Regions from separate parts of the Homo sapiens genome. Here regions 1, 2 and 4 are each linked to region 3. The links are contacts of gene promoters, found by promoter capture Hi-C in blood cells and fetal thymus (Javierre and others, 2016). All regions are on one chromosome and are shown on one strand. The core of a region is centred on a gene start or on the middle of the fragment in contact, and the rest is flanking DNA. Distances in the headings are between cores, read along the strand shown. Region 1 overlaps CPNE4 (copine 4). Region 2 overlaps PIK3R4 (phosphoinositide-3-kinase regulatory subunit 4). Region 3 holds the start of MRPL3 (mitochondrial ribosomal protein L3). Region 4 overlaps DNAJC13 (DnaJ heat shock protein family (Hsp40) member C13).

What was found. The method cuts DNA at HindIII sites, captures the fragments that hold promoters and counts their contacts. A CHiCAGO score of 5 or more calls a contact.
Region 1: a contact is called between a fragment that was not itself captured here and the fragment with the promoter of MRPL3 in region 3, in 2 of 17 cell types (megakaryocytes and erythroblasts). The highest score is 7.9, in megakaryocytes.
Region 2: a fragment that was not itself captured here is called in contact with the fragment with the promoter of MRPL3 in region 3 in 4 of 17 cell types (non-activated CD4 T cells, total CD4 T cells, total CD8 T cells and 1 more); the score reaches 9.1 in non-activated CD4 T cells.
Region 4: a fragment that was not itself captured here is called in contact with the fragment with the promoter of MRPL3 in region 3 in 2 of 17 cell types (total CD8 T cells and activated CD4 T cells); the score reaches 5.0 in total CD8 T cells.

Annotation. Positions count from the first base shown.
Region 1 is chr3:132,025,009-132,029,424 of GRCh38, reverse strand. All of the region lies in intron 1 of CPNE4 (copine 4), which reads left to right. Among named protein-coding and RNA genes, the nearest start is that of CPNE4, 7.8 kb to the left of the region's middle. The HindIII fragment of the contact is 658 bases long and covers 2,464-3,121 here.
Region 2 is chr3:130,727,248-130,731,191 of GRCh38, reverse strand. It overlaps PIK3R4 (phosphoinositide-3-kinase regulatory subunit 4), which reads left to right. Exons shown (of 20, transcript NM_014602.3): 5 at 750-884; 6 at 2,508-2,729. Among named protein-coding and RNA genes, the nearest start is that of PIK3R4, 18 kb to the left of the region's middle. The HindIII fragment of the contact is 2,921 bases long and covers 698-3,618 here.
Region 3 is chr3:131,501,721-131,506,316 of GRCh38, reverse strand. It overlaps MRPL3 (mitochondrial ribosomal protein L3), which reads left to right and starts at 3,346. Exons shown (of 10, transcript NM_007208.4): 1 at 3,346-3,587. The coding sequence starts at 3,496. LOC105374114 (a long non-coding RNA gene) reads right to left here and starts at 3,718. Exons shown (of 3, transcript NR_189111.1): 1 at 3,613-3,718. RefSeq lists enhancers at 3,448-3,517, 3,024-3,710. The HindIII fragment of the contact is 1,488 bases long and covers 2,559-4,046 here.
Region 4 is chr3:132,422,431-132,426,904 of GRCh38, reverse strand. The region is part of intron 1 of DNAJC13 (DnaJ heat shock protein family (Hsp40) member C13); the gene reads right to left. Among named protein-coding and RNA genes, the nearest start is that of DNAJC13, 7.2 kb to the right of the region's middle. The HindIII fragment of the contact is 154 bases long and covers 2,926-3,079 here.

The DNA.
Region 1 (4,416 bases), core at 1,543-4,042, 520 kb before region 3:
TCTAGGATAAGGAATGGAGTTTGACCCAACCCCAAGATATGCCCTGGGGATATTGGTTTTCTCAGGTGCATCTGACTCTCCGGCCTGGATTGCCTCGCTGCGGAGAGGGGACAAAAGGTTTTGCCCTGAGCATCTGGTGGTGTCTTCCAGTGCCTGGTTAGGTTGCTCCGCGGCTGGACAGTCTGACTACTCTCAAAACTCCTCGTGACAGGCCTTTCTGGGGTCTGATCGCCCTTTGTTTCCTTACACTTGGGCCTGTTATCAGAAGAACTCTGAATCCGGAAATACCTTGTTTAAATTTGGGCTACAGTTTTCAAGATCCAGGCATTTGGGTGAATCACTTAACCCGAGTATTAGGATCTGGAAAATGGGGCTAGTAATTGTTGTAAATGTGAGGTGTTTAAAAGTGTCTGGCATTTTAGTGCGTAGATAAATGCTACTTCCTGTGCCCATTCTCTTGGGAGTTCTCCCCAAACTTCACCCTTTAAAAAAAAAAAAAAGAAAAATTAAGAATATATTTTACTTAACACAAAATTTTAAAAAATCATGTAATCGATATAGAGATTATTGAGATATTTTACATTCTTTTTTTTCTAGTACTAAATCTTTGAAATCTAGCATGTATTTTTATACTTACAGCACATTTTAATTCAGATTTGCCACATTTTAAGTGCTTAATGCTCCTATGTGGGTAGTGGCTACCCTATTGAAACAGTGCAGATCTATAAGAAGAGAAAATAAAATTACTTTCGCCATTTTTCCTTTTTGTTAAAGGTTAGCAATAATATATACAATGCTTGGCACACAATAGGAGCTTAACACAGGTTCACTGTGATTGTTATTTGCTATCACCATTTTATTTTTAAATGGGCCTCTTCTCCCATCTCTTATCCCTTCCCCCATCTCTTACCCCTTCCCCCTCAGCAGAAGGGTCTCATTCATCTATCTGTTGAATAATAATTGGTCACAGCATTTATGTCAAAAGCTGTGCTAGGCACTGGGGATAAACATAAAAACTTGAGGCACAGGCAGACTGGTGAAAAGAAACATTGAAATTGTGCTGTTAAGTGTGAGGAGAAAGATGAACAAATGATGCTAGGTAAGAGATAAAGAAGGAGATATTTGGTTTGTCTCAAAGGACCTGGGAAGTGGTCCTTTACAAGTCCTGTTATACTAAGGTGTTTTTCCTCTCCCTGTATTTCAAGGAAACAGGTGGACAGAAGGTAATTTTGAGGGAGAAGTGGAGGGGGTGGCATCTCATTCAGCAGGCACTTTGGTTTGTATGTATTCTTAACAGCGCTAATAGAGATTCTAAAATCTAATCAACTTGCACCATGCCCTGTATGTAGTAATTTCATCAATATCATGAAGTAAATGCCTAAATCATTGACTTAATTCATTTAAACAGAAAATGATTTGGAAGGAAATGTAATAGAAATATAACCAAGAACCTTTACCATTAAGTGATGGGTCTGAAACAATCTAAATAAGAACTCTGTTTTAAAAATATTGAAAGGTGTATTTCATACAAATATCCATAAAAATGAAAAATAATAAGGGCAATAGAATGGCCCAAAACAATACTTTATCATTATCATTAAAGACAAAGAAGGCTTTTAAGATGTTAGTAGCCACTAGCATTGCAAGATGACTGAGGTGATGTCTTTGTTATCTTCGGAGCAGTTGATTCAACAGGTAACTCAGAGATATAAATTTCAGTGGCAAAAGTCAAGGAGTTTTGCACCTGACATTGTGCTAATGTGAAACTAGGGATGGACACCTTTGATCATGTGTGTTAACGTTATCTGGCCAGGTAGACTGCAGAGCTCCCGAGAAGCCATTGTCAGATTTCTTTTGCTTGGTGGCCTTTACGTCCTGTGACTTGACTGATTGTGAATTGTATTGGAGAAAAGGCACGATAAGAGGAAAAGAGTGGAAATAGTTGATTTTTTGGCAACTAATAACACTCATGATAGCTCCTAACCTGATTTAATTTTAAAAAGATGGGAAAATAAATGCCTCTTATGGAATAAGAGAATGTGAGAACTTGGCAATCCCATAAAATTATGCACACCCCTCCCATTTTCCAGATAAGAAAAAAGAGACTCAGCAAGGTGAAGTGACTTGCTCAAGCTCGTTGGTGGCCTAGTTACAGCAGTGAGAATAAAGGCTTCTTCACTCCTGGGCCTGGGGTTCTTCTCTGGCCCATGCCACACCACACTCCTCTCTCCTCTCCACTTCATGCTTCAGGGGGTCAGAACTCTCTCTGTCTTGCTCACAACTGAACCCCAAACAGTGCTAGGTACCTAGTAGTTGCTCAAAAACTTTTGGTTGACTGAATGAAATAAGCTGTTTCTTTCTTCCTCACTCATATCAGGAAATGTGCCAAGAAATCACAGGGTTGCAATGCAGTTTGATAAAGACAAATATGTGTTAAGTTTTGTTATGATAAGGGCTTAAGCTTTAAAAGTAAGCATACTTAGTTTGAACGCTGGCTCTGGCACTTAATAGCTGTTTTGCTTTGGGGAAATTACTAAACCTGTCCCTATTTCCTCATTTGTAAAAATGGAGATTAAACCATATATATAAGGCTATAAGGCAGAAGAGAGGCCTTGACTCACTGTATGTATGCACTCAATGTTTTTTTCCTACTTTCCCAACCTTGCTCTCCATCCATCCTGAGAAGATTTAAAGTGGGATATAGTACTTCTTTTAAAAAGTAATGTTAATTTATTTCAGATAATATGCATTTATCTTGCAGAAAAATAAAATTATTTAATTATATAAATATAAATACATACACAGTCACTAGAAGTGTATATTCTGTGGGTTAGATATTAATAGTACTGTTTTATAAATAATTTGGTCAGTTGTCAAAGCACTGGCAACTGGGAGGAAGAGGAATGAAATTTAGGGTATCCCTATTCCAATTCAGACCAGGGCACATTTATCCAGTCCATGCTTCATAAGATCTTTGCTTCTTGGGCTTGGATTCTCCAAGTTGAAGTTAATTCTCTTTACCATACCCTCTCCTGGCCTGGCTATGCTTCAGCCCCTGCATTGTGTGCCTTGTAACATGGTTATTCATAGATATGACCATGTCTGTAGCATGTTGCAAGCTTTTCCAAGTAGCAGTTGTATATCACACTTCTTGATATGACTCCAGAGAACCTAGAACTTTTTTGGCACATAGGATACTCCCTCTGTCACTCTGGGTGCATCTCCATTCCCTTAGCAAATATCCTGCATCCAGGCAAAGCATGCTTTTAACTTACTCAAAATCTATTCTACGCCTGCTCTCATTTATTAAAAATATTCTTATTATATTTTGATTATTGACTTTATCATATCATCCAAATTGATATATGAAGTTGTATGACATATTACTACTGCACATAGTTGTATCTGTAATACAACATATATTGTACTTCATGAAAAATTTATAATATTTTTCAAGGATTATTTTGACTACGTGTGTGTTGTACTTTACGCATTGACTTTAAATCACAGTCCTCACCTCAAATGTGCTCCACTATATTTGCAAGACTATTCTGTGTGTTGTATGTAGGTAGGTAAGATTGTGTATTGGTGAATGGCATAAATTTTAAGTCAGGAATTCCTAGGTTTGAATTTCAGCTCTGCTTAACCTGTTGAAGCTCAGTTTTCATAGATATAGAATGAGAATAATGATTGTGTCTATGTTATAGGATGGCTGTGAAGCTTGCTGTCACTTGGAAATTACTCAAATTGCAACCTTTATTTGCTGGTGGCATCTCTCACAAACTAGAGGCTTATTAGTAGTTAATTACCCTAATGGTAATGGTTTGCTGTGTTGCAGGGGAATTGTGAAAATTAGAAGTGTGTTTATGAAGGTATGGTAGATATCAGCAACAAAATGTATGCTTTTCATAGCTACTGAATCATTTACCCTTCTTCTCCCTTTCCTCCTCTCCTCTCTCTCTGTTCCTACTCACAAATTTTATGCCCAGCCACAAAAGGTGACTCAAGCGTTATGCTGGAGTTTCTCTAAGATAAAACTTCCTCTGTTTCTAATGGTTCCAGCTTTATTTCAAATGAAAGGTACGTTTAGTACTGGCCCCAGGAACACAACCAGAATACAAAATCAATCATTCCACCCTACAAGACCAGCAGCAGAAATTTATTGTATTTGACTTTGTTTCCCCTGCCCTTGTCCCAAAAGGATCTTAGGCTGCCAGCATTAGACAACATATTGGGTATCTCTCTGTTACGAAAGTCTAAAATGTTACTGGCATAAAATATTATCTTCAAGCCATGGTTCTCAAACTTGAGGATGAGTCAGAATCTCCGAATCTCCTGGAGGGCTTGTTAAAACCCGAAGTGATGGGCCCTTCCTGTGGAATTTCTAACTCAGTGGGTCTAGGGTAGGAGTAAAAT
Region 2 (3,944 bases), core at 909-3,408, 770 kb after region 3:
TTAAGTGGGAGGCAAGGTAGGAGAAGAAAGTGTAAGTGAAGAGCAGATACAATTGATAGTAAATGTGACAGCAGAAATTAGAAGTAGTTATTTTGTAGTGGTGAGGAATATCAGACAGTCTTTGTAGGTCATCAGAAAGAGAAAGGAGAAGATATAGACAACTGTAGAAATGTGCAAACAGTCTGCCACTTTGGTTCACTAAGAACTTGAGTATCACTTGTAAAGCAGTCTAACAATGGTTTCTCTTTGAGGCAGTTGTGACTTTTCATTTATATGTGAAGAAACAGTCTCAGATTGCTTAAATGGTCAAGTTAGTAAGTGGCAAGGTTGAGATTTGAACCCAGGTCTTTCTGATGCCAAAGCTTAGCTTTATCTGTTATTTTAATGTGGATGTTTCTTTGTTAGTCTAATAAATATCTCTCACTTGTCAAGGATACTGTTTAAAAGGTAAGTCCCTGCAGAGAATTAGGCTTTTTTTTTTTTTTGGTCCTCAGTAGATGAGGTATTAGATTATTTTTATATTATTATTTTTTTAAGCTGTGTTTCAAAAATAAGACTAGTGGTTTGGAGACAGTTACAGATTATGAGCTGGGTTACTAAAATCTGATTAAGTTAAATGCTAAATTGAAAAGTTCTGTTTTTCCCATAGGCTTATGATTATTTATGTATAAAGACAGGGAGGAAAAGTTAATAAGCTTTACAGAGAGTTAAGATTGTAATTATAAATTTTCTTCCTTTTTATTTTATAGAAAACATAGCTCTGCTGGCAGAAACAGCTCTGAGATTCCTGGAATTAGTACAGTTAAAAAATCTTAATATGGAAAATGACCCCAATAATGAAGAAATAGATGAGGTTACACATCCAAATGGAAATTATGACACAGGTTGTATAATTTTCTCTTCCAGATTTCCTGTTATTTAGAATGAATTGCTGATGCTAACTTGTAAAACTATCATTTGTAGTTTTCATGTAAGGTGAAGGAATACCAGATCTATATATTAGATAGGAAGAGTCCCTGGTGTCTAATTATTCTCTCTATCCTCATATACTGTTATCTTGCTCAAAAATAATCAGCTTGTCACCATGGATACTAAAGTCAATTGTTTGTCAGCCAGAATTGATTTGTGTGAACAGTAAAGCTGGCTGAATTATATAATTCTCATAAAAGAAAAAATTAGAAACATCATAGCTAAAGAAGCTAAACCTTTTCTCCTTACGTGAGTATATTCTGAGTATCCTCAATCATAAATTGTTTTTATTTCATACTATTTGTTATTTACAAAAAACCATAAAGGAACAGATGTGATGATGGTAAACTTATTGATGTCAAAGTCCTTGTCTTAGGTTTCTTTGTGTTATACAACTCTTTACAGATTTTTACTTAATGTTTGTTGAGTAAAAGATTTAGAAGTAAAGTAATAGATGTAATTTTCTCCAAGATGCTTCTAGTTGTGAAAAACTAGAGAAATCTAGTTTTTTAGAATTTTATGCTGCAAACAACTACAATTGTTACTTGTTAGAATGGCACCATTTTTAGACAACATGTATTATCTAGAGTTGAATACAGTGGAATAATTTTGAAGTTATAGGAGGATGTATCAGGAAGTCCTAGCCTTTTTTTATGGAATTACTTGGAAAATAATACTGTCCTATAACCATGTAATTGGACCTGTTGAGATAATAAAGTTAAATGGTAAAATTTTTGGGGAGGGAATCTAAAGTTTTTCTTAATGTGAGCATATAGTTTTGCATGTCAGACCAGTTACCTTTTTCCTTGACAGTAGTAGCTGGACCAAGAGTGGCCCCTGTCTTCTGTTTATTCACAGATAATTGTTAAAGATTAGCTCTGCATCAGGCAATTAGGAGCCTGCCCTAAGCACTAGAGCATGGTGGTGAATACGATAGAAACGATCCTTGCTCTTGAGCTTACATTTTAGTAAAAAGAAGACAGGCAGCTAAGTAAATAAATAAGTGAGAAAAAGTGAGGATGAGGAAGAGAAGAGGTAAGACCAGAGAAGACAGTGGCCAGATGAAGTAAAGCCTTGACAGAACTTGCAGTGTGTTTTCTGGCTTTCTAAAATAAACTGACCTTTAAAAACATTTTCTAAAAGGATTGCTCAGTACCATCATATTATATCCTAATCCTATTCCATTATTTTCAAGTCCTTGATTAACTGGGATCTTACTGGGGCAATGTGATTTCCTTTCTGGTGCTTCTCTATAATTTTCTCCTTGAGCTAATAAATGAAACTATTTGATTAGTGAGATAGTAACTATGTTTGTGGCATCTGCTTGTTAGGATATTCTTCACTTTATATTTCAGTTTCCCATCCTTCAGAGCTTTGAATAATGCAAAAAATTGGTGATTAAAGTCTTCGGTGGATTCTGTAATCAGTCTCTCTGATGAGTAAGAAAGAAGACTGGGACTATCTGTATGGGGAAAAATTGATCTTTTCTTAACTATTTCTTTTCTTTCTTTCTTTCTTTCTTTTTTTTTTTTTTTTAGAGCTCCAAGCCTTACATGAAATGGTCCAGCAGAAAGTTGTTACTTTGCTAAGTGACCCTGAAAATATTGTAAAACAAACCTTGATGGAAAATGGAATAACACGGCTGTGTGTATTCTTTGGACGTCAGAAAGCCAACGATGTTTTGTTGTCCCACATGATTACTTTCCTAAATGATAAGAATGATTGGCATCTACGTGGAGCATTTTTTGATAGTATAGTTGGTATGTTTTTTGCTTTTAAATTCCTTTAAGATTTTTAATCATCCTCTCAAATACTTCCATGCAATCTGAAGGATAGATGATACTACCAAATTTCATTAATAATGAAATGAATTCCTAGTATTTCTGTCTTCATGCTGCTTTTGGATGATGTAAGTATTTTGGCTTGGTTAAAATAAAGGGTTGGTATATCAACCTGTGTTACATCCGTATGAAGGAATACCGTGTGGTCATTAACTATATTTAGACAGAATAATGACCTGGAAAGTACCATGAAGTATGTTAAAGTGACATAAGTAGGTTGTAAATCCTCTTAAAGAATGATTGCTGTAGTGTAAAGGTAACAATAACAGAAATCATATATGTTTATAAACATGTTAATAAAAGTGAACATGCATCACTTTTAGAATCAGAAAATAAGTTAAAATATAATCATGGTTGAAAATCAATGTAGTTGGAAAGAATTAAGTTAAAGGCTTTGTGTAACTGAAAATTTGTGAAAATTTAAGCAGCATTTTTTTTTTGCTGTTCTTTCATTTTACAATTCTTGATTTTTAGATATATCTAAAGTCAGACATCTTGTGTTTTATATGCATGACTTATATTACATTTGTATTCAGAATTAGAAGTAAATGAAGTGGACAGTATTTTGCATGGGTTAAGTCATGTTTGATACAGGATTTAATATTTTTCTCTTTTGAATAATAACTGATCCCCTTTTCCCTGAATGTACTGATCTTTTCAGTTTAAGATTTGGCCAATTATGAAATATATGCTAAATTCATATTATTATGATTATCCACTACCCCCTATTATATCATTTCCCACATAGTTGTAACAGTTTATCTGTTAACCCGAAAAGTTTAAAGACTATTCTGCACAATAGAAAGCTTGGCTGTGTCCAGACTTTCTTGTGAGGCAGCAGAAGCTGTAAGACTTTAAGGGCCGGGCGCCGTGGCTCACGCCTGTAATCCCAGCACTTTGGGAGGCCGAGGCGGGCGGATCACGAGGTTAGGAGATCGAGACCATCCTGGCTAACACGGTGAAACCCCGTCTCTACTAAAAATACAAAAAATCAGCCGGGCGCGGTGGCGGGTGCCTGTACTCGGAGGCGGCGGGAGGGGGGCTGAGGCAGGAGAATGGCGTGAACCCAGGAGGCGGAGCTTGCAGTGAGCTGAGATTGCGCCACTGCAGTCAGGCCTGGGTGAAAGAGCGAGA
Region 3 (4,596 bases), core at 2,097-4,596:
TCAAATTTTCTATTTCAGCCAGCAATGAAATCTTAAAGTTCAAAAATCTCTTAAAGTTTATTTTATCTATATCCCCATTGAATGCTTGACTCACTTTCATAACATCTTTACTGATTTTAAAATATGCTAGATTCTCACAACTTGAGAAAAATGGAGAAAAAAAAGGATAACTTAGTAAATCCAAACTCATTGTTTAAAAGATTTCTAATTTCAAATATAAGGTATGTTATAAACTAAGAGACAGCATAAATGAATACTAAAGTGGAAATTACCCAACACAAAATTTACCATCTTGCAATAATCCAACTATACAGGATATATCACAAACATTATAAGAGCTAATGGTAGAGCCTAATGGCAGGAACACATATAAAAGATTATTTCCAGTGAACTCTTGCTTTGAAATCTGCTCCTTCTATGATGATTCTCTTGTATTGAACATGGCTTTAGTAATTCAAAAATGAATCTATTCCTAATGTTTTATTTAATAAGAGAAGGTTTATGAGATCATCTGTTGGTCTGAATTAGCGGAGTAAGAGTTATAGAACTGTACCACTAAAAAGAGAAAGTGCAAGTTATCTTCGTTCCAATAAGGAATTGAAATCTTAGAGAGGCAAAATGGCATTACAGTTTCAGGGTCTAAGGCAGTGTCTGAAGGATGACATCAGAAATAACAGGAAGCTCTAGGTCAGTGCCTGACTGCCCTAGAAAAGCCTAGGCTGGGTCCCTTGACAACTGGGCCTAGTAGCTGTCAGCAGCATATTACAGTGACTAAATCAAGTATGACACCACTCAGCCCTGGCTGGCAATCAGGAGACACATTTTTTACGACAGCAGACAAACCATGTTTTACTTTGATTCAGTTCAGCGGTGGTGCCTGCTGTCAAGGTCCTCCTTATGGACTAGGAGATATTTGGTACTATGGGAAAAGGTTAGACCAAATGGCTACCTCTTCAATCCTCACTGACCACTGCGTGTGATTACTTACCGATTTTCCTCTTTAGCCTTAAAGAAATTCCAAGGCAAGAGTAGTGACATATTTGTCATAGAGAGCCAAAGAAACAAAATGTCTAAAAGCATAAGCTCTATCTATGGTCACAGTCTTTGGCTCTACCAGTTAATAGCTGGGTGATTTTATTTAAGTTATGTAATCTCTGTATGCCTATTTTCTTAACTGTAAGATCCAGATAATTATACTATTGTCACAGCAGATTGTCATAACAATCAAGTGAGAAAATACACTGAGAGAGTAAAAATGAATACTATTAGTAACTGGACTGCAGTGTTTATAGCAGAACATCAATACAATATTTCTTTTTTTTTTTTTTGAGACGGAGTCTTGCTCTGTCACCCAGGCTGGAGTGCAGTGGCTCAATCTCGCTCACTGCAAGCTGCGCCTCCCAGGTTCACACCATTCTCCTGCCTCAGCCTCCTGAGTAGCTGGGACTACAGGCACCCGCCACTACGCCCGGCTAATTTTTTTTTGTATTTTTAGTAGAGAAGGGGTTTCACCATGTCAGCCAGGATGGTCTCAATCTCCTGACCTCGTGATCCACCCGCCTTGGCATCCCAAAGTGCTGAGCCACCACGCCCAGCCCATCATTACAATATTTCTTACAGACCGTACTGTAGGCCACACCACTGCAGCAAAATGACTAACAGTTCCTTATTCTGAGTGATTCCTGCTTTCTTATGAACATCATGCCCACTTCCTCTCTGTTCTTCCTGTCTCTAGAACAAAGACTATCAAGATATCCAATTGCTGAACTGTCCTTTCTTCTTGACAGCACCCATTCTAAAACAAGTTCCTGCTTCTCTGATGCCACTTTAAAATCACTCAGCCTTAAGTCCAAATTTCATTTCAAGCCCCTCCCAGGTCACTCTTTTGGAAACATCCTCAGACATATGCTGTCTTTTGCTGCATCAAGCTAATTAAACTTGACTTTGTATGAGTTCACGTTTTCTTCTAGTAGCCTTGGCTTATGGGCTTCCACAATGCTGAGCACATACTCTAGCACACTATATGGATAAGAAATGTTAGTTATTGGCAGTAGTACAGAAATCTTCTTATTCTCAACTTCTTGCATGTAGCACACCTCAAAACATGTTTGTTCAATGAAGAGCCATCCTTAAGTATCTGGGAAGCCAGGCAGCATGGCTAGAATGAAGAGATGTAGTTTTTCCTTCAAGGTCCAAAGTATTATTGAAAAGTGTCTAAGGTAACTGCAACAGCAATGAGTGGAATGAATGGACAAGCAAAGCAAAGATTTTTTAGCCCACTAAAGTCCAAGTAATGGCCAGGAATTGACCATTGTCTGGACCTGTTAAACCAAGATAGCCAGATCTCTAGTAAAAAGAGAAGGTTGAAATAGCTACACTTTAAAGTTCTTATTTCCAAATTTCTACAAACAGTAATCTGACAAATAAGGGAATTAGTAGAAGAATAAATGTCCTAGTCACATACATGGTTATTAGGCTAGATCTGGAACCCAAGACAGGGGATTTTTTGTGCAGGTGTATTAGCTATCTATTATTGCATAACAAATTACCCTAAAGCTTAATGACTCAAAAAAACGGTAATCATTTATTTTCTCTGGCAATTTCTCCTAGTCAGTAATTCATGAGCGGCCTGGCTGGGAGATTCAGGCTTAACGTCTCCATGAGTTGCAGCCGAGGACTGGTGGATCCACTTCCTAGGTGGCTCAGTCATGACTGGCTAGTTGATTCCTCTTTATATGTTCCTCCCTGCAGAGCTGTTTGAGTGTCTGCAGGAAATGAAGGCTAGCTTTCTCCACAGGGAGCAATCCAAGAGACAAAAACTGAAGTAACAATATGTTTTATGATCCAGCCCTAGAAGGCATACATCATTTCTATGGGTGTAGTCTATTGATAACACATGCCAACCCTGTTTCAGTGCCAACTCTGCTCCTCTGCCAGATGTGTTGTTTTGGACCAGCACCTAAATTCTGAGTCAGTTTCCTCATTTATAATAGAAAAATAAATACTTCCTTTCAGGACCGTTTTTTATGATTAACAAATATAGGATTATGAAGCGCTGCTTAGCATAATGCATTGCCTCACAACGGGCACTATTTAGAAGTGTCTTCATTTTCCTTAGCGTCCTCAGGAAGTCTGTCCTTATTCTTCTAAAGTTTAAACTCTGAACATCCCTTTTATTTTACCCCTGGAGAGGCGAGTCAGTCCCTTCCCACCCCTACCTACTCCAACTCACATCCAAAGTAGGACAACGGTGGAAGCAGAACTATAGTTTCCGGGGAGCGACTCGAGTGCCCGGAGTTCATTGTAAAACGCACCGGAAGTGGGTCCGGCGGCTTTCTTTCCGTCGCAGAGAGCATCGGCCGGCGACCGTTCCGGCGGCCATTGCGAAAACTTCCCCACGGCTACTGCGTCCACGTGGCGGTGGCGTGGGGACTCCCTGAAAGCAGAGCGGCAGGGCGCCCGGAAGTCGTGAGTCGAGTCTTCCCGGGCTAATCCATGCCGGGTTGGAGGCTGCTGACGCAGGTCGGCGCCCAGGTGCTGGGTCGACTCGGGGACGGCCTGGGTGCTGCCCTGGGCCCGGGGAACAGGTAGGAAGGTGTGAGGGTGTCCTACCTGCACAGTTGCGTCCTGAAGCAGTGGAATGGCCTGGTGCAGTTGGGCCTCCCCTGGGTGGAGGAGGAAGGGGCTCTGTTGAGACGTGGGACACAGAAGAATAAGGGCCGTTAACCTAAGGAAGCACGTTCTAAGGGGATTGAAGTGGTGATTTTTAAAAAACGCTTATGAGCCAGCCACTAGCAGCGAACGCTATTAACAGCAATCATATCTTACAATTAGTGAGCGTTTGCCAGGTACTAAGCGCTCTGCTAAGTGTATTAGGTGCCTTATGTAGCCTCACGGGAGCAAACTGCTATCATAAGGTTTACAGATAAAACTGAAGGTTAGGGAGGTGAGTTAATTTGCCCAAAGTCACTCAACTAATAAGTGGAAAATTAGGAATCTAGCCTGAATTTATCTGACTACAAAAGGAGAGTAGACTGCAGAAAGCTTTACTTCTGTTCTGACCCTCCATGCAAGAATTACACCCCTTCTTCCTGACCTCCGCCCACTAAGGTCTTTCTTGGTATGTTCACCTGTTCAGAGGTCATGCCTTTTGTGGATCTTTTAACTTTGCACACCCAGTTTCTTCACTTCTCTGAACCTAGGCCATGTCATTGCAGGGAGGAGGTGAGCTTGTTAGACAAAGATCAACATGCCACCTTCTGCCACCTCCACTGAATGTAAAACTATTAAGGTACACTTCCAAATGGGTTAGTGGCTTTTCATGTCTATAGGTAGGACTGTTTTTTGGGGAATATGTTTATCTGCGAGGAGAAGATGAATTTTTTTCTCCAGGGTAACGACTAACAGTTTAAATGTGAGCCTTATCCGAAGGAATGTGGGGAGTGAGGAAAAGGTTGGAGACCTGAAAAAAAGGTATACAGAATCCAAGCCCTTTCCCAAGGCCCTGACTACACTTTCCAATTTGTGACTTCCCTTTTCTATATTAAGTGGAGGAAGTTTTTAAATTGTGGTTTGGTTTTATTTATTTTTTCTTTT
Region 4 (4,474 bases), core at 1,753-4,252, 920 kb before region 3:
GAAATTTCAGTTGTTAGAACTGTTTCCTTACATGTATCCAACCTAATATTTTTAAATTTATGTTTGATGGCTACAAATTAACTATGGCTTGAGAAACTTTCAAGAAAAAAAAAACTTCACAAAATAAATTTAATCTGCAGTCAATATTTCCTCTGTACATTAATAAGCTCTAAAAGTGATTCAAAAAAATCATCACTTATAGGCAAAAACTCTTAAGCAACCATTGATTTCCACTATTTATGATGAAAAAAATCTGTAAAATTTCTAGTATCAGAAGCTCAAGTATCAAGCAGGTAATATCAGTAACAGTCAAATATAAGCACATGCTATCAACAACCACAAACTGTCCAACTAAAAAATGTAAACAGTTAAATGGGATCTTGAATGAGATCTTGGTAGCAGCTGTATCACTAGCATTTGCCATTCTGCCAGTTGTTTAGAGGCTATTCGAAATAGCAGGAATTTATCTGCTCAAACTAACGTCACTTAAATTTCATCTCCTTCATTCCTGCAATTGTGTTCCATATTTCAAATTCTCAAAGACCCATGATTCTTTCTGATGAGGAAAAATCAAATTTACATGCCTTTTGTAATTAAATTGCATTGAAAGCATCTCCAATTTTTGCGAGTCAGCTTCACTTGTTTTCATGCTATATCCTAAATTACACCACCAAAGAAACTTCTGTTTGTTCTTTTTATAGAACTGTCCTATGGGTTAAAAAGTCAAATTCAGGGCAACACAGGCATTTTGGCTAGATTCACCTCTCTCAATGAATACTACTGCATCATGCTTTCGAACAACACAATATTCTTGCATTCTCTAATTTATTACTGGCAGTAATACTGGCAAACCATTTAAGATCATTTATGGTTAAAATGAGAATGATCTTTTAGAAGACACATAATTTTGACAGAAAACCACAGGATTTGGGAGTCCAGTGAGAAGAAGCCTACATCAAGTTGACACTAAGAACAAAAGCAAGATGAAGGGACTCAACACCACAGACACTCAAGCCAATTACGGTCAAGCTATAAGCAAAAAAATTTACACACACAGCAAAATTAAGTATATACACATGGCTTGTGTTAAGCAAAAACACAAGCAGAACACTCATTTAACTAGGGATGAATGAATACACTTAGAAAAAAATACACTAGTGAAAGAAGGATTGGCATTAATCAGGCTAGTCACCTGTTTAAAGCACGTATTTAGCATCATCAACTGGAAGTAATTTTTACACAAATATGACAACTTGCAGAGAACAGGTAAGCTACTGATTTTCCCATTTTGAGTCTGTAAAATGCAAGAACGGAACTTACTTTCATTAGCTCTGCCCTCAATAACTAAAAATGTGAATTTGTTTTGAAATGCATAAAAAATAAGATGGATTGATGGAAAGATGGACAGATCTGTGATAAAGCAAGTACAGTAAAATGTTAATGTAAAAACCTTTAGGTGGGCATGTGGGTATCTAATGTAAAGTTCTTTCAACCTGGCTGTAGGTGAAAATGTTTACAATATGTTGGGTGAAAATTGTGGAGTTTGCCTTTTCTGATCAAACTCTCCTACAACAGAAACAATGCTACATTCCAAAACCACACTTAAAATGTAGCAGACATTCACATCATAGGAACTAATTTATGAACGTAATACTTCCTACAGCTATATCTTACCAAAAAGGGAGGGGTAGTAAGGAGAACCATGGAAAGACTAACCCTTTGAAAAAATAACTAATAAGAGTAATAGATAGAATATCTTATATTGGCTTCTTGAGGATCTAGGTTTGTTTGTAACTGGATTCAAAATCTGAGTAAATCATAGCACTAGATTAGTTTGGTTTCAAACAAATGGTAAAAAATATGAATGGCTAACAGAATGTTCATTTTTACCCAGATTAAATAGCTACAACTAAACTGTTTAGATAGAATGTGCTGTGTATGGGGGAAACTGCCATATGAACTTTAACCCTATTTTTAAATTTTAGCTTCATTTTAATATATGACTCAAGTACAGGTAAAAGCATTTTCTTCTAAATGAACAACAAATCAGTATGTGTAATATGTATGATACCAACAGGAATCTTAAAACAAACCATAAATACATCACAAAGATTTTAGTACCTACCATCTTAGCCTTCCTTAACTTACTGAAGAACCCGATACCTCCAGAGATAGATGTCGTTGAAGAATAAAAAAAGCCAGCGGTAATATCAAATTTCATCTGATAATCATATCTTCAAATAATTGCCCAGATATTTTAAAGTGAAGTGATTGTACTGTCACATCATAATCAACTTTTAACTAGTTTCACTACCATAGGGTAGCTGAAATAATATGAGATCTCCACCATTGTTTTTAAAAACTTGATTCCTTTCTATTACAAACTGAGTATATATTAATGAAATACAGGGCAAGAAAAATTCAAAAGCAACCCCTAAATCTGAAGAAACACTTAATGGGAGGAGGGGACAAGCATACTTACCATAGCAGTTACTTTTTTTGACCTCTTCTATTCAACAGTATAAATCAAGTATTGAAAAGAGACCTGTCTCTTCTATTTCTATCACATGTATGCTCATTTCATCTGAGGGGAATAATTTGTATTTCTGACAAAACAGAAGTTTATCTGTTGTTAAAAAAATTCAAATTTTCTGTGAAAGATGTATTACTATGACCCTTCCCTTTCCAAAGCTTAAAAATGCCTTAAAATACTCACCTGAAAGCTTTCTTTCCAGAAACATGTTCACTTAAGCAATGCTTTGAAATCATTGCTATTGATCATTTACATATTTTTAGTTTATACACATTATTGTAACTTTATAGACCTAATTTCTATTTCATTTTATCTTTGAAGCATAACCTGGCTTATGCAAGAACAAACTATACTATTTCTGTAAGGTCTTCAGCTTATCAACTTATTAAGCTTATCAGCTTATTAAGGCACTTAATAATCATGCTCTACTATGGTAAACAGGCCCTGAAATGGGCAAAAGAAATTTTTAGCAGCCATATTTTAACTTGTTGCTGTTTTTCCTATCATTACAGTAAATGCATAATGCGGGACTAAATTTCCTAAGCTTTTAACACATACAACTTGAAGACAGTTTTACAGAAAGCATCCTGAAAACCCAAACACTGTTCTTTTTATACTATTAAAAGACAAAAGTTTAATTTGCTACAATTTCCCCTTCACTCAATACAAAATAGCAAAAACATACATTTCTAGTTTAGTTCTGAAATATCCCTATTATTCCTACCTCTTCTGTGGCGCTTTACAGTTTATAGAACACTACCAAATTATCTTAAAAAAGCAAAGTTTCACTTTTAAAATTAAGCCCATTAGTGCTAAGATTTGGGGGGAAAATGGCTTATCTGCTCTAAGATTTGATAAACATTCAAAATACATTCTGTAGCTTGACTAGAAGTTTGAGGAGAGAAACCCCATAGCCTTAGATGACTAAGGAATACAATAAAAGTGAGAACACCATGTATAAGCGTTTAAATGTATTACAGAATACATGAAATATTAGAGAACATCTCCTCCATTCATAACCTCACCAACCCTTCCATTAAGTTGTGGCAACTAGAGCTGGCAAAAATCAAAGCGTCGAAATAATTTTTTTTAAGAGACAGGGTCTTCCTTTGTCACCCAGACTGAAACGCAGCAACACAATCATAGCTCACTGTAATCTCAGTCTCCTGGGTTCAAGCAATCCTCCTGCCTCAGCCTCCCGAGCACACGTCACCACAGCCAGCTAGTTATTTCATTTTTTGATGAGACGGGGTTGCTCAAGCTAGGTTGGAGCTCCTGGCCTCGAGTGATCCTCCCGCCTCAGCCTTCCAAGTGCTGGGATTACACGTGTGATTATTGTGCACCCAGCTAAAATAATTCTGGATTGCTTTAGGGGTTTTGTTTTCTATCTGATAATCAAAATATCAAACTCTTATTAATCCATTGCAAAGAGATATTACCACTGGGCATGTGCTAAATATGTGACTAGGCAGTGTTCTTCTAAGGGCAACTTGAGTGCTTAAACTGTAAAATTCCACTGACTTTAAAGCTCACTCTTTTTCACAAGTAGTCCATGAAAGTACAAGTAAAACTCCCATATGTCGACTATTGAATAAAGAGCATCTGAAAAGAATTACTAGCAAGCTATATGGTTTTATTGACTGAACCACACCTAAATGTACCTTTGCACAGGTAACTATCTTAAATTAGCAAAGATGATCATAACCATGTTGGTTTAAACTATTTGTTACAAAGAAATCTAACTCAGTTACTCTCAAAGGAGTTCCTATGATTAAGAATCACTCCACATAACAAGAAGTGTTATAAATTGGCATATGCTGGGTATGTGAACACTGCTGAAACAGAAAAAATATGTTGAAAACCACTGATTAAAATTTTGAACTAAAGTAATGGTTGGGCTAGGATGCCATCCCATCTGAGGCACTATGACTGGGAGCACTA